Regions from separate parts of the Homo sapiens genome. Here all the other regions are linked to region 5. The links are contacts of gene promoters, found by promoter capture Hi-C in blood cells and fetal thymus (Javierre and others, 2016). All regions are on one chromosome and are shown on one strand. The core of a region is centred on a gene start or on the middle of the fragment in contact, and the rest is flanking DNA. Distances in the headings are between cores, read along the strand shown. Region 1 overlaps MEIOC (meiosis specific with coiled-coil domain). Region 2 has its middle 18 kb from the start of LINC01180. Region 3 overlaps G6PC3 (glucose-6-phosphatase catalytic subunit 3). Region 4 overlaps HDAC5 (histone deacetylase 5). Region 5 holds the start of FAM171A2 (family with sequence similarity 171 member A2).

The links. Contacts are between HindIII fragments. The CHiCAGO score rates a contact against its expected background, and 5 or more counts as called.
Region 1: a contact is called between a fragment that was not itself captured here and the fragment with the promoter of FAM171A2 in region 5, in 1 of 17 cell types (endothelial precursors). The highest score is 5.6, in endothelial precursors.
Region 2: a fragment that was not itself captured here is called in contact with the fragment with the promoter of FAM171A2 in region 5 in 1 of 17 cell types (endothelial precursors); the score reaches 5.7 in endothelial precursors.
Region 3: a fragment that was not itself captured here is called in contact with the fragment with the promoter of FAM171A2 in region 5 in 1 of 17 cell types (neutrophils); the score reaches 5.6 in neutrophils.
Region 4: a fragment that was not itself captured here is called in contact with the fragment with the promoter of FAM171A2 in region 5 in 1 of 17 cell types (neutrophils); the score reaches 7.0 in neutrophils.

The regions. Positions count from the first base shown.
Region 1 is chr17:44,674,266-44,676,965 of GRCh38, forward strand. It overlaps MEIOC (meiosis specific with coiled-coil domain), which reads left to right. Exons shown (of 8, transcript NM_001145080.3): 8 at 1-1,536. Among named protein-coding and RNA genes, the nearest start is that of CCDC43, 14 kb to the right of the region's middle. The HindIII fragment of the contact is 767 bases long and covers 1,018-1,784 here.
Region 2 is chr17:44,631,228-44,633,927 of GRCh38, forward strand. No RefSeq gene overlaps it. Among named protein-coding and RNA genes, the nearest start is that of LINC01180, 18 kb to the right of the region's middle. The HindIII fragment of the contact is 850 bases long and covers 919-1,768 here.
Region 3 is chr17:44,075,958-44,078,765 of GRCh38, forward strand. It overlaps G6PC3 (glucose-6-phosphatase catalytic subunit 3), which reads left to right. Exons shown (of 6, transcript NM_138387.4): 6 at 1-387. The coding sequence ends at 86. HDAC5 (histone deacetylase 5) reads right to left here. Exons shown (of 27, transcript NM_005474.5): 26 at 2,543-2,708; 27 at 796-2,458. The coding sequence ends at 2,419. Among named protein-coding and RNA genes, the nearest start is that of G6PC3, 6.6 kb to the left of the region's middle. RefSeq lists enhancers at 1-51, 1,069-1,608. The HindIII fragment of the contact is 3,690 bases long and covers 1-2,808 here.
Region 4 is chr17:44,095,045-44,097,855 of GRCh38, forward strand. All of the region lies in intron 3 of HDAC5 (histone deacetylase 5), which reads right to left. Among named protein-coding and RNA genes, the nearest start is that of G6PC3, 26 kb to the left of the region's middle. RefSeq lists an enhancer at 316-1,076. The HindIII fragment of the contact is 2,335 bases long and covers 248-2,582 here.
Region 5 is chr17:44,362,458-44,365,157 of GRCh38, forward strand. FAM171A2 (family with sequence similarity 171 member A2) reads right to left here and starts at 1,396. Exons shown (of 8, transcript NM_198475.3): 1 at 1,140-1,396. The coding sequence starts at 1,257. It also overlaps the pseudogene RPL7L1P5. RefSeq lists a silencer at 1,108-1,487. The HindIII fragment of the contact is 8,364 bases long and covers 1-2,700 here.

The DNA.
Region 1 (2,700 bases), core at 151-2,650, 310 kb after region 5:
AACTTGTCAAACTTTCAGTATGTTTTCTTTCAGATTTAAAGTTAATACCAGTACCTTAATGAAGTCTAACTTCTATTTAAAAATCTTCTATTTGAAGTGAATCCGATATAGTTTTAAGTAAACGCAAAGGTACAGTTGACTACTCAGAGTTCTGAGTAGTCAGATAACAAGTTTAAGTAAATTAAATATTTCCTAACAGCTAAAATGTGCTTAAACTCATTCTGCCATGCAGGTAAATGCAAATGTGAAATTCTTCTAGGAGATAAATTTCATTTAGGTTTGTCTTAGTTAAGTATAATTCCAAATAATGAATCTAAGTGACTGTAACCCAATTACGGCTACAGCCTAGTAACCAAGACAAGTTTTGATTGTGATATCAAAGTGTTTTCCTTACAAAACTGGATAATACCTGGGAAACAAAGGAAAATACGGATAAACCCAATATTCATGTACAAACTTAATATTTAAAATACTATACTACCATATTTATAAATTTGGAATCTTAATGCCTAGGTATATGGAGGGAAATGCATCTGATTCTCCTAAATTAATGATAAAAGTGTCAGTGTAAAAACCATGCAAGTTACTGAATATAAAACCTATTCAGATCATTTGTGTATATTCTTTAAATTTTAATTATATTATCAATTGTTAAATGTTTCCAATTTTAAAGTTATTTAAATTGAATCACAAAACATTCCCTTTATCTGGATCTTTTAGACTTGATGCACAGTAACTGAAATAATGACTACTGTTTTAATACCCTTAGTTTGCTGCCTTTTATGAGGGTGTCACGAAGTTCTAAAATGTATTTTTTTAAAGGTTAATCTCTAACTAGTTTAGCTTGCAATTGGTTAGTGTATATTTTGTGTAGTTGTGTTCATTAGTTTGCTTCTAAGTTCTAAAATGTATTTTTTAAAGGTTAATCTCTAACTAGTTTAGCTTGCAATTGGTTAGCCTATATTTTGCGTAGTTGTGTTCATTAGTTTGCTTCTGTATTTTTTTAAAACTATTGAAAGCTTAACTTTTTCTGTTTCTCATCACTTAGTATCTTTGTATAGAACTTGAGTAATTTATTCGTTAATATGAAATGTTGGTATTATGTGACTCAGAAGATCTTGGGTTTTAACATTTCTAGCATGAGTTAAACTATAATGTACTGATGAAATTTAATTGAAATATCCTTGACTAGAAACACTGATGTTTTAAATGTTAGTGTTTTTCTTAGTTTTAGAAATTCTGGTATTAAAAAAAAAAAGAGTGTAATCATACCACATAAATTTTCTTTAGATGATGTGCAGAAGAAACTGATTGAGAATGCAAGAGTAACTGTAGGGAGAAACATTTTGATCACTGATATGCCTTAGAACTACCCAAATGAATTACATTGAGGGTAGTCAAATAAAATAGATCATCTCACCACAGTCACTGCATAGAAAGTGGTTAAGTTTAACATAAGACATGTTGGATGTTATAAAAACAAATACTGTACTGAATTTAGTCTCAGGAAAAAAATAAATTACTTTGTTGAAAACATTTGGTTTCATTTTTCTAAATTCATATGTTTCTAACCTTAAGAGTCACTCATATCAGAAAGTCAAATGAATTTCATTTAAGAACTTATACTAAGTTTTAGATTTCATTATTAACGCACAAGTAATAATGTTGGTTTATAAATCAATGCCATTCAGATATCCATGGATCTAACCAGATCTCCTTCAAAGATGAAATTTTTGCTCTATCTTTATGCTAATCCGTGTAAACCAGAATAAAAATTTTAGGGAAGCTTTTACATGATACTGGTCAGAAATGAAATACCAGTCCGTTAATAAGAACCAAACACTTAAAAAAATTCTTTGAAATATTGTTAATCATATCACCCAATAGATAATTTTTAAATTAGTCGGTTGTCCCTTTCAGTGGCATATCCTCTAACAGATGGTTCTTATGTACTTGTATTTCTGAATTACAACCTATAAAACATTGTACTTCTGAATTACAACCTATGAAAACATTATAAAACTTTTACAAAATTTGCAGTGAAACTGATAAAACTGATGCTCCCGCCATTTCTAATCTGAAAGAACTTGGTGTACTCATTCTTTTTAATGGAAAAAGCAAAATTACCTTGAGTTGTTATCAGTGTCCTTCTCACTTGAATAATCTGCTACTATAAAGTTTTAGAGGGTTGAGAATTTATGACTGAAATCCAAAATCTGGCCTAAAACTCAATCTTACCATAGAAGATATGGTTGTTTAAAATTTGCCCTTTGCAGCTGGGTGCCGGTGGATCACGCCTGTAATCCCAGCACTTTGGGAGGCTGAGGCGGGTGGATCACGAGGTCAGGAGATCGAGACCATCCTGGCTAACACGGTGAAACCCCATCTCTACTAAAAATACAAAAAATTAGCTGGGTGTGGTGGCACTCGCCTGTAGTCTCAGCTACTTGGGAGGGGGAGGCAGGAGAATCACTTGAACCCGCAAGGTGGAGGTTGCAGTGAGCCAACATGGCGCCACTGCACTCCAGCCTGGGTGACAGAGTGATCCGTTTCAAAAAACAAACAAAAAAAATATGCCCTTTGCAATACTGAACATTTTAGACGTAAAGGATTTATTAGCACCTGAGTCAAGTGGATAACTAAACTCAAAGCCTAATGAGCTGATCCTCTATTTTCTGTTTAAGCATTAGTTTGAGAGTA
Region 2 (2,700 bases), core at 94-2,593, 270 kb after region 5:
CATACATTTTTAGAAGACAGGAAATAGGAAGAGGCCAAGTATGGGCAGATTGGGAAGAGATGGAGCTCCCAGGCACTCACTGGGATTCTCTTCCTTAGGAAAATAATGTCTCCCATCCTTACAGTGGAGGCTGAGCCTGGATTCAATTCCATATTCTTGCTCCAGCTCTAGCTAAGGTGACAGTTATAACACGTGGGCCAGACAGTATGGGACTCCATCCGGCACACTTTTTTTTTTTTTTTTTTTTTTTTTTGGTGACGGGGTCTCCTCTGTTGCCTAGGCCAGACTGCAGTGGGGCAATCCCAGCTCACTGCAGCCTCGACTTCCCTGGCTCAAGTAACTGGGCTTAAGTGATCCTCCCACCTCAGCCTCTCGAGTAGCTAGGACCACAGATGCATGCCTAACGCCCAGCTAATTTTTTGTTATTTTTTGTAGAGACAGGGTCTCCCTATGTTGCCCAAGCTGGTCTTGAACTCCTGGACTCAAGGGATGCTCCCTACGTGGCCTCTCAAAGTGCTGGGATTACAGGCATGAGCCACCGTGCCAGCCCAACGTGGTTTACTATCTAGAACATAGTAAAGCGAGGAATTAACTTGATCCTTGATAGCTTGGCCAGGGCAGGAAGTAAGGTCACCTGTGAGAGAAGCAATGATTCTGTGGTGCTTCTTGAGTATCTCCATCATATACCTCAGCAGGAGGGCTTGGATGCTCCCTCTAGGCAAACATGACTATGACAATGAAGTAAAAACAAACCTGGATAACATGATGGGTGGGCTTTGATGGAGAAAGTATATGGAGGCAATATAGCATGTTAGAAAGTGCTGTGTAGTCAGACAAAACTGGGTTCAAAGCTTGGCTCTGACAATTAAGCCCAGGGACTTTAGGCAAGTCACTTAACCTCTGTGAATATCATCAGTAAGCTTCCGCTGCATGAGATTGTTATAAGAATTAAATAAAACCATTTGTAGGGTATGACAATTAATAGGCACTTAAATAAATGGCAACCAGTAGTGTCATATTATCTGAAAGTAAGATACAGTGTGTTGAAATTTCTTAATTCAACTCCCACTTAAATCATGCCCCAGACAGTCTCCTGACACGCTGATGAGGGTCTAATATGGAAATTTTGAAAGAAATCAATCAACAATAATTTGATGGGCATGTGATGGTACAAAGCCAGTGCCAGATGCTATGGATGGGTGGGCAGGGGAAAAGAAAAAAAAGTAGAGGGTTTGCAAGATTGTTCAAGGCTAGACACAGTGTCTCACACCTGTAATCCCAGCACTTTGGGAGGCTGAGGCAGAAGGATTGCTTGAGTCCAGGAGTTTGAGACCAGCCTGGGCAACATAGTGAGACCTCATCTCTACTAAAAATAAAAATAAAAAATTAGCTAGGCATGGTGGCATGCACCTGTAGTCCCAGCTGCTTGGGAGGTTAAGGCAGGAGGATTGATTGAGCCCGGGAGGTGGAGGCTGCAGTGAGCCTCGATTGCACCATTGCACTCCAGCCTGGGTGACAGAGAGATACCCTGTCTCAAAAACAAACAAAAAACATTAACAACAACAAAAACAAGGTTGTTCAAGAGACAACAGAAGTCATAGACACTTGAGAAGAATCACAAAGCAATTTAGCAGCAAATTTTCAGAATCCAAATTGAGTCTTGGGCTACTGGGGATGTAGAATCATGCTTGGAGGATGCAGACACCCTGCCGGAGGACGATCTAAATCTGGAAAACCTGTATGATTCTGAACTGGGACTTGATTTTTAAGCTTCCTTAATACCTGGTAAACCTGAAGCTTGGGATTTTATAACAAGTTTATTTTTTATGTGTTAAAAATGTGTGGAGAGGGTGAAATGGGAAAAACTGCCTAATGAATATAGAGTTTTGTTTTGGGGCGATGAAATGTTTTGGAACTAGATGGAGGTGATGGTTACATGACATTGTGAATGTGCTAAATATCACTGAATTGTTCACTTTAAAATGGTTAACTTTATGCTACAATTTCACCTCAATTTAAAAATTCATAGAAATTTAGAAATAGGCCAGGTGTGGTGGCTCACACCTGTAATCCCATCACTTTGGGAGGCTGAGGTGGGCGGATCACATGAGGCCAAGAATTTGAGACCAGCCTGGCCAACATGGCGAAACCCTGTCTCTACTAAAAATATAGAAATTAGTTGGGTGTGGTGGCGCATGCCTGTAGTCCCAGCTACTTTGAAGGCTGAGACAGGAGAATAGCTTGAACCCAGGAGGCACAGGTTGCAGTGAGCTGAGATGGCGCCACTACACTCCTGCCTAGGCGACAGAAAGAGACTTGGTCTCAAAAAAAAAGAAGTAAAAATAAAATTTTAAAAAAGCTATTTGGCTTGGCACAGTGGCTTACGCCTGTAATCCCAGCCCTTTGGGAGGCCAAAGTGGGCAGATCACTTGAGGTCAGGAGTTCGAGACCAGCCTGGCCAACATGGCGAAACACTGTCTCTACCAAAAAATAGAAAAGTTAGCTGGGCGTGGTGACGTGCGTCTGTAATCCCCGTTACTCGGGAGGCTGAGGCAGAAGAATCGCTTGAACCTGGGAGATGGAGGTTGCGGTGAGCCGAAATCACGCCACTGCACTCCAGCTTGGGTGACAGAGTGAGAGCCTGTCTCAAACAAACAAACAATTTTTAAAGGAGTACCCCTACCAGATATTAGAAATTTT
Region 3 (2,808 bases), core at 1-2,500, 290 kb before region 5:
TCTGGCCATGCCTAGTCCTGGCCCTCGTGCCCTGGGCAGTGCACATGTTCAGTGCCCAGGAAGCACCGCCCATCCACTCTTCCTGACTTCTTGTGTGCCTCCCTTTCCTTTCCCTCCCACAAAGCCAACACTCTGTGACCACCACACTCCAGGAGGCAGCCCCATCCCCTTCCAGCCCCTAAGTAGGCCCTCCCCTCCCTAAATCTGCTTCCGCACCACCTGGTCTTAGCCCCAAAGATGGGCCTTCTCTCTCCCAGATAAGTTGGTCCTCCCTCTGCCTTTCCTCTCAAGCCCCCAAAGAGCAAAGGCAACAGCAAGACCAGCGGGTTCTTGCAACACTGTGAGGGGCAGCCAGGGCGGCCCCAATAAAGCCCTTGAATACTTTGAGATTCCTTTCTTGCCTATGCGCACATCTCCATGGGCCTTGCCTGTGTGTGCACAAGTGGAACCTTTGCCAGGCTGCTCCAGTAGTCTCTGTGCCATCTCCAGCCCTGTTTCCAGGGGCAGAGAGGCAGGAAAGGAGAGGGCTGTAAACTCAGGTGAGACCTCTCAGCCCTGGGTCCCCTGCCTCATCACTGCCTAGGCCACATGAGAGGTCCCATGAGATGCTGTGACTATATTCGGTATAACCCTGTCTTTTCACTTACAGGACAGATCTTGCGCCCCAACCTCCAGTTTCCTAAATCGGCTTCTAGTCCAGGGGCTGGAGAAAAGAGTAGTGTGTTTGGCTAGGAAGGAGGATGAGAACCTCTACTCCATTTGGGAGCCCAGAGAATAGAGACATTGGCCCCAGAAGGCACTGCCAGAAACAAGTTTATTTACACAAGGACACACAGTGTAACGGGTTACAAAATACTTAACTGAAATCCATATCCAGGGAGACAAAGCAAGGAGTGGGTTTACATGAGAACCAGACCAGCCACAGGGAGAGAGTGGGTAAGGGGCCGGGAGCCTGGGGCTCAGCACAGAGAGGCCTAGTACACTGAGCCTGGCCCCATCCCCATCCCCCAGGAGGATCTAAAACAAACACACAAGCACACTATGAACCGATGGTGCTGGGACTCCTGCCCCTCCCCTGGCTCCCTCAATCCTGCTCAGGCCCCCATAGGATAATAAATATGTAAACAGATTGGTGGGGCCCTGGAGATAGAAGGAGAGAAAGTATATGTGGTACTGGGGAGGAGGAGGAAGGAAGAGTCAGCCCCCTAGGAGCCACTTCCCATCTTTGGTTTCCTACAGGCTGGATGGCATCCCCTGGAAGCCTTGTAGGCCCACAGCCCCTGGCAGGGCTCCTGGGAAAGAGAAGGGACAGCGCCCAGCCCCCTCCTGGTCTTAGCTCCCTTGGGCTGGTGGTCAGCAAAGGGAGCCCAGAAGGTATGGAAGCTCCAGCTGAGAGCCGACTCCTGGATCCCTGGGTTCTGGCCTTACCCCTTCTAGAACCTCCATTCTCACCATCCCCAGGATCCAAAACAAAAGGCCCCAGGAGGGAGGTGAGCCTCTGCCCCTTCTCCCCGCAGCATGCTGGATGGCTGGGAAAATCTGGTCCTGACAGCAGGGGGGCTCTCACCAGCCTGGAGCCCCTCTGCAGGGACCACCTTCTCCCCTTGCCCAGGCTGTGCCAGCAGAGGGGCAGGGAGGCCATCCGAGTAAGGTGGGGAGCAGACCTGGTTCTGTTACTCCTCCTGGCCCCTGAGAACCCAGGAAACCAGTCCTCTCCTTCCCCACACACTTTCACCCTCTCAGCCCCGGGGAAGGGGAAGTAGGCTGTGAGGAGTGTGAGGCAAGACAGCCCTCCTCACAGACTGCAGGCCACAGCTTGGGCACCAGCCTCCCATCAGTGCTGAGACCAAGAGGAAGGAGGAGGAGAGGGGTCTGCAGAGATGGTGAGGACGAAAGAAGGGGAAAGGGTGGAGAATCGCAGGGTGGGTGCCCACCTCCCCTCCACTCTGCATCTTAAAGACAGTAGTGGATCCTCCAGATCCTCCCCTGAGGCTGGAGAAGGGAGGAGAGTGAAATTAAGGCATTTCCCCCCAAATCAGCTGAAACCAAGGCACCGACTTCCCGTTCCCTCCTCACTCGGGGGGCCCCAGAACTGGAGAGTACTGTCTGGGCCCCCGTGCCCACCTTGAGCTGGCCCAGGCTCCAAGGAGGAAAAGGACAGACAGAATGCAGGAAAATGGGGGGAGGGACACATGGGACAGGGCTGGGAAGACACCACCACCCCCTGCAGAGGGAGCAGGCTTCTAGAGCTGAGGTGGAAGCCACAGGGCTGGGGGCCTGAGGCAGCGTAGAGGAGCAGGAGGGGCAAGGCTGAGAGACCCACACGGCACACCTTGTTGAATGTGTGACTTTTTGTTTTTAATAGAAAAAATAAACAAAATCACAATGGTGAAGCCCAGAGGGATGGGGGCCGGGGCGTCACAGGGCAGGCTCCTGCTCCATGGGCTCCTCTGCCGGCCTGTGGGGCAAGCACAGGGGAGGGTATTGAGTGGGGCGCACCAGCAGGGGTGAGGGCAGAGAGGTGGTGCGGGTTGCTGCTTACCTGGGGCTGTGTTCCCGGGCTGCCGCAGCCTGGGCCTGCTCGGCCCCCACCGACAGCAAGGCCATGGCGCTCACAGTCTCGGCCTCCTCGGTCTCACCTGCTTGGGCCTCTCGCAGGGACCGGCCCAGACCAGCGGCGAACTTCTGCACACAGCTCCAGTGTTTGCCTGTGGACGAGAGACAGGCAAGGGGTCAGGGAGGGCAGAGGACACCCACATGAACAGTCCCAGTCCTGGTGCTCCCACAAGCTCCGTGCCCCCTTGGCAG
Region 4 (2,811 bases), core at 165-2,664, 270 kb before region 5:
TCAGCCTCCCAAAGTGCTGGGATTATAGGCGTGAGCCACTGCCCAGCCTTCAACACATAATATTATCATTGATAGTCAACATCTCTGGGCATTTTACAATGACTCATTTAAATATCACAGTTACCCTATGACTTAGATGCTATTATTACCCCATTTTACTGATGAGGAAACTGAGGTTTAGAGAAGTTTAAGTAGCAACCAGACACAGCTAGGTGATCCAATAACTAGAATATGAGTCCAAATCCTAAGCTTTTAACCACTGTGCCCGCTCCCATTTCTCAACACCGTGCCCCATGCAAAGCCTCATACTAGAAGAGAAACTGAGGCACAGAGGTTGGTTCTAGGACTGACAGTGCCCTTGGTAACCCCAGGAGAGGCTGGTGGAGACCTTCTGGATATCTCTACCCTCTGTCCCCTTCTGGGGCCTCATCCCTATCTGGGGCAGACTGGGCAGGAGGGAGAGGCTGTGGGAATGGGGGTGGGGTGGGAACAGGAGGCCTCGGGGAAAGGGGGTGCAGGGCTGCACCAAGCCAGGGACAGGAGGGGGCTGGGAGTCAAGACTCGCTTCCTTTGCTGGATTATCTCCTTTCAACAGTTTTATTGTAATTACCCTGAAAATGCCGCTATATATAGAGTGAGCCAAACAGCAGCTGTGCCTGGGGGGAGGGGGAATAAGAGGATGGGCGGGCAGGCAGCAGGGAGGAGGTGGGAGGAGGAGACAGGAAAGGAAAGGGAATCAGACAGGAAGAAGGGTAACAGCAGGGGGAGGGCAGGAGCTTCGGCAGAGATCTCAGAACTCTGGTCTTACGGAGAACCGGCTGGGGAGAGGAAGGCTGCTGGGGAGGGGAAGGCAGTGGAGGGCCTGCTGGGTTCCAAGACCTTGGGTCCAGTCCCCACATGGACAATGGGCCGAGTGGCTCAGGGAGTGCACGAAGTTCCAATGGGCTTATGGGAGGGCTAGGTCTCCACTTCTTTGTACCTACACACAGTTCTCAGGTCACTGCATGTCACTCCTCACCACTGCCCTGTGGTTGCCAGGACAACTGGGCAAACACCACACCAGCAGGGAGCCCCAAGCCCAGCCCAAGCCCCACAAAGTCTCCAGCCAGGAAGGGGAAGGCAGGATACCACTGCCTGGGAAGGCGGAAGTGAGAGAGGCAGGCCAACCCATTCCTGTTTCTCTTCTACTTCTTTCTCCAAAGAAAGCCCTCACTCTCCTCGCTACAGCCCAGGGAGGTCACGAGGGGCTGGGAAGACTCCTGTGGCAAAGTGGCCCACTCCAGCCCAGGCCTGAGAAAAAAGGACCCCGAAATCCTTCTGGCTACCAGTATCTTCTGCCTTCATGAGCTGGCCTCTCTCCAGACCACCCCCCAGCATTAAGAGGCGAGAGAGGGAAAAAAAAAACAAAAAACAAGTTTTGGTTTTTTTTTGTTTTTTTTTTTTTTGGAGATGGAGTTTTGCTCTTGTCATCCAGGCTGGAGTGCAGTGGCACAATCTCGGCTCACTGCAACCTCTGCCTCCTGGGTTCAAGCAGTTTTCCTGCCTCAGCCCCGCAAGTAGCTGGGATTACAGGCACCCGCCACCACGCTCAGCTAATTTTTTTGTATTTTTAGTAGACACAAGGTTTCACCATGTTGGCCAGGCTGGTCTCAAACTCTTGACCTCAGGTGATCCGCTCGCCTCGGCCTCCCAAAGGGCTGGGATTACAGGCATGAGCCACTGCCCCTGGCCTTTTTTTTAGATGGAGTCTCACTGCAACCTCCGCCTCCTGGGTTCAAGCAATTCTCCTGCCTCAGCCTCCCAAGCAGCTGGGATTACAGGCGCCCACCACCAGGCCTAGCTAATTTTTGTATTTTTAGTAGAAACGGGGTTTCACCATGTAGGTCAGGCTGGTCTCGAACTCCTGACCTCAGGTGATCCACCCGCCTCGGCCTCCCAAAGTGCTGGGATTACAGGCATGAGTGACCACACCCAGCCGAACAATTTTTAAAGAGAAGAGAGGGAGGTGGGAGGTAGGAGGTGGCAAAGGGTGGGCTAAGAGAGGCCCCCACACCTGTTTAGATGGGTCTGGATCTCTCCAGAGAACCTAGCACTGAATGGGTGTCACCAAGGCAGGAGCAAGGCCTGCTGGAGGCCGAGGCCAAGGCCATGCCACCCACATGCCTGGAGTATGGCCTCTGGAACCCCCTGCAGGCAGGGTGGGGTGGGAGAAGGTAAAAGCTCAGCATGATGTAGCAGTCCCCACCAGCCTCTTCTCCCCCAGGCATGGTTGGGAACATTCCTCTGTGGTTTTCCCGCCAGCCATACTGACGACTCTGTGGCCACAAGGCCAGAGCCACATGTGCAGAAGTGGCCAGATGTGGCCAGAGGGTGGGGTTACACATACTCATCTTCATTCCCAACCCATGTCCTGCCCCAGCACCAGGAGAAAGGGTCCTTGGAAACTGCAGAAGGCCTTCCTGGAGGTAACTAGCCACAGCCCACGATGGTGGCAAGGAAATGGCAGCCAGCTCAGGTCTCCCCAGCCCGTGAAGTGCTCAGCAAGGCCCTGAGCTGGCCGGAGGGTTATCTGTTCTTAGTCAAGCTTGGCTTGGCCCGTGGCACTCTGATCACTCAGCCAAGCAATGGACAGCCGTCAACCTGCTGCTCCCGGCAATGCCGGGGTTGTAGGAGCCAGATTCCAGCCTGCCTGCCCAGGGAAGGGCAGAGGTCCAAGCACTCCTGGCTCCCAGCAGATAACCCTGCCTAGGGCTGGAACTGTCGCCAGCAGTACTGGCTTCCCTTGCAGGAGCCCTGCAGAGAGCACATGGG
Region 5 (2,700 bases), core at 146-2,645:
CCTCATCCAGACCCCCCCACTCTGCTTTTCCTGCCAGCTCCTTAGTGTGGGGGGTGAGGAGTGAATACTGCTTCAGGCAGGGATGGGGCCCACAGGCAGGAGAGGGAGAGCAGGACCCGGGAGGTGGACTCAGGACTGGAGTGGGCGGAGGCCCCCAAGCGTCCAGGCCTGCCTGTGGGATGTGTTGTCAGGGTCTTGCTCCCCCACCCTTTCCTGCTGCAGGAGCCGGCCCCACCCCCACCTCACACACCCACCTGCGCCCGGTGAGTCGCTGGGAAGGGTCTCCTCCACTGCGAAGATGTGAGATGAGGAGGGGGTGATATGGGGGCGGGCAGGGGACAGGAATGCCAGGAGGCCTGCTGAATGGGGGGGGACCCAGGCACCTGCCCTCCCAGCCGGCACTGCCCACAGCCAGCTAGCTCAGCATGGCTCCACGACCACAAGCCTGCCATGCTCCCTCAGCTGGGAATCACAATGTACCCCCTTTTCTTAGAGGCCCACAACTGCGGCTCGTCCTCCATCATAGGCTCACAAGCATTTATTTGGTGCACCCCAAACTCTAAACCAGGGGGGCTGGCTGGGAGCTGTCAGGCTCCAGGGCAAAGAACCCCATTAGAGCAGTCAATCCCGCCCACAGCCTCACCCACTCCCCCTTCTCCCCTCCCCCCTTCAAACCCAGCTCCAGGCTCCCAGCCTCCGGTCCCGGCCTAGGGTGGCAGCGGATGCCGGCGCCCCCACCCCGCCAGGGTCGGGAGCGAGCAACCCGCAGGGGGCTGCGGAGCAGGCGCCCGCCCCAGCCCGCCCCTGGGCGGGTGTCTTCGGTAGACAATGGCTCAGGCAGCAGCGCCTCGCGGACCAGGAGGGAGAAAAACAAATAGGGAGAGGGCGGCGGCGCAGATCCTGGGGACCCTCGCACTACCCATTGTGTCTCCCCAAGACCCCCGCCCCGGACGGCCTCCCTCTCCCCGCCTCCACTTTCCCCCAGAAGCGCCAACCCCAGATCGCTTAGCTCCCCCCACCCGAATCCAGGGAACAGAATACCACTCAATTCACGAACGCCGCGAAGAGGGGGCTGACGGGCGGGAGCCTGATCAGGGGGCGCAGGCCCGCGATCGCGGCCCCTCCCGGCTGAGACTCACCCTGCGGGCTGGGGGGCTCCGGCGGCGACTTGCCGGGAGCCCGGGAGGCGCTGCCGAGCAGCAGCCCCAGCAGCGGCAACAGCCGCGCGAGGACGCTGGGGCCACTCGCCGGCGGCATCGCGGGGCTAGGCCGGGCCCTAGCGGTCCATGGCTCCCGCCTGGTCCCGCTCGCCCGGCCCCGCGCAGCCCCAGCTCTGCGCCGCGCCTCGCAGCTCCGGCTCCCGCTCCCGCTGCGGCGCCCGCTCAGCGCGATTGTCTCCGACCGGAGCCGCCGCAAGCGCCCCCTGCAGGCGGCGCGCCACACCGCTGGCCCTCCGGCACCGCCCCCTCCCGGCCCCGCTCCGCCCGCCGCCCCCCGGTACTGCCCACCTTCAGCCCACCCCGCAGCCCCCGCGCTCTGCGCTCCCAGACTCTGCGCTGCAAAGGAGTGTCGGGATTAGGGTCCCATCACCCGGGTTCTTGGGTTTCGAGAGTCCCCAAAATTTGGTGCAAAATTTGTGTGTGTGTAGGTGGGGAGTGGATATTGCCTACAACACTCTCAAGGGGTACGGTCATGAAAGTCTCAGAAAACTGTAAGAACTCCCTGCTCGATGGCCCCCTTCTCCCGGTAGAACACCTAGGCAGTGCTGGGGTGATAGCAGGGAAGGCCCCCTAGACCCCCCTAAGTCTCTCTTTTTTTTTTTTTTGAGACAGATTTTTTTTTTTCAGAGACAAGTGAACATTTATTTTTGGGCCTTTCTTCCTATTTCAAGTCTTTTTCAAAACAAGGCCCCAAGAATCTCCAAATTCAATTATGTCCCTGGGCTTGGCCGACTGGTGCAGGAGTCTTAGGGAGCCTTGTACAAATGCTAGAGTTACTCACTTACCGACATTAAACTAAAACGCTGGAATTTTTCCTTGGAAACTGGACTGTGATTAGAGGTGCTTGCCATGAACATAAGCTACTGTTTCTTCTCCTTCTTTTTTTTTTTTTTTTTTTTTTTGAGAGAGAGTCTTGCTCTGTTGCCCAGGCTGGAGTGCAGTGGCGTGATCTTGGCTCACTGCAACCTCTGCCTCCCGGGTTCAAGTGATTCTCCTGCCTCAGCCTCCCAAGTAGCTGGGACTACAGGTGCACGCCACCATGCCCGGCTAATTTTTGTATTTTTAGTAGAGACAGCGTTTCACTATGTTGGCCAGGCTGGTCTCGAACTCCTGATCTCAAGTGATCTACCCGCCTCGGCCTCCCAAAGTGCTGGGATTACAGGCGTGAGCTTCTGTCTTTTCTTTGACCCTTCCTTTCCAGTTTTTGAAGATAAAGCTGGAAATAATCTTCTCTGAAGATACTTGATAAAAATTCCCAAAAAAACAAAAACACATGCTTCTACTACCCATGCTTCCACTTCATTAATAAAAATTTACTGCAGTTTGGCACCTGGGTCTAGTTCAGCTGGCGGATGAGCTGACTGATGCGTTCACCCTGATAGCCAGGTGTGCCCATCTCCTTGAGGAAGCCCACTGTATTTTTGGTAGCATGACGGGCCACTGAGAGGTAGAAAGGGCGTAACAACCATGAGACCTCCTG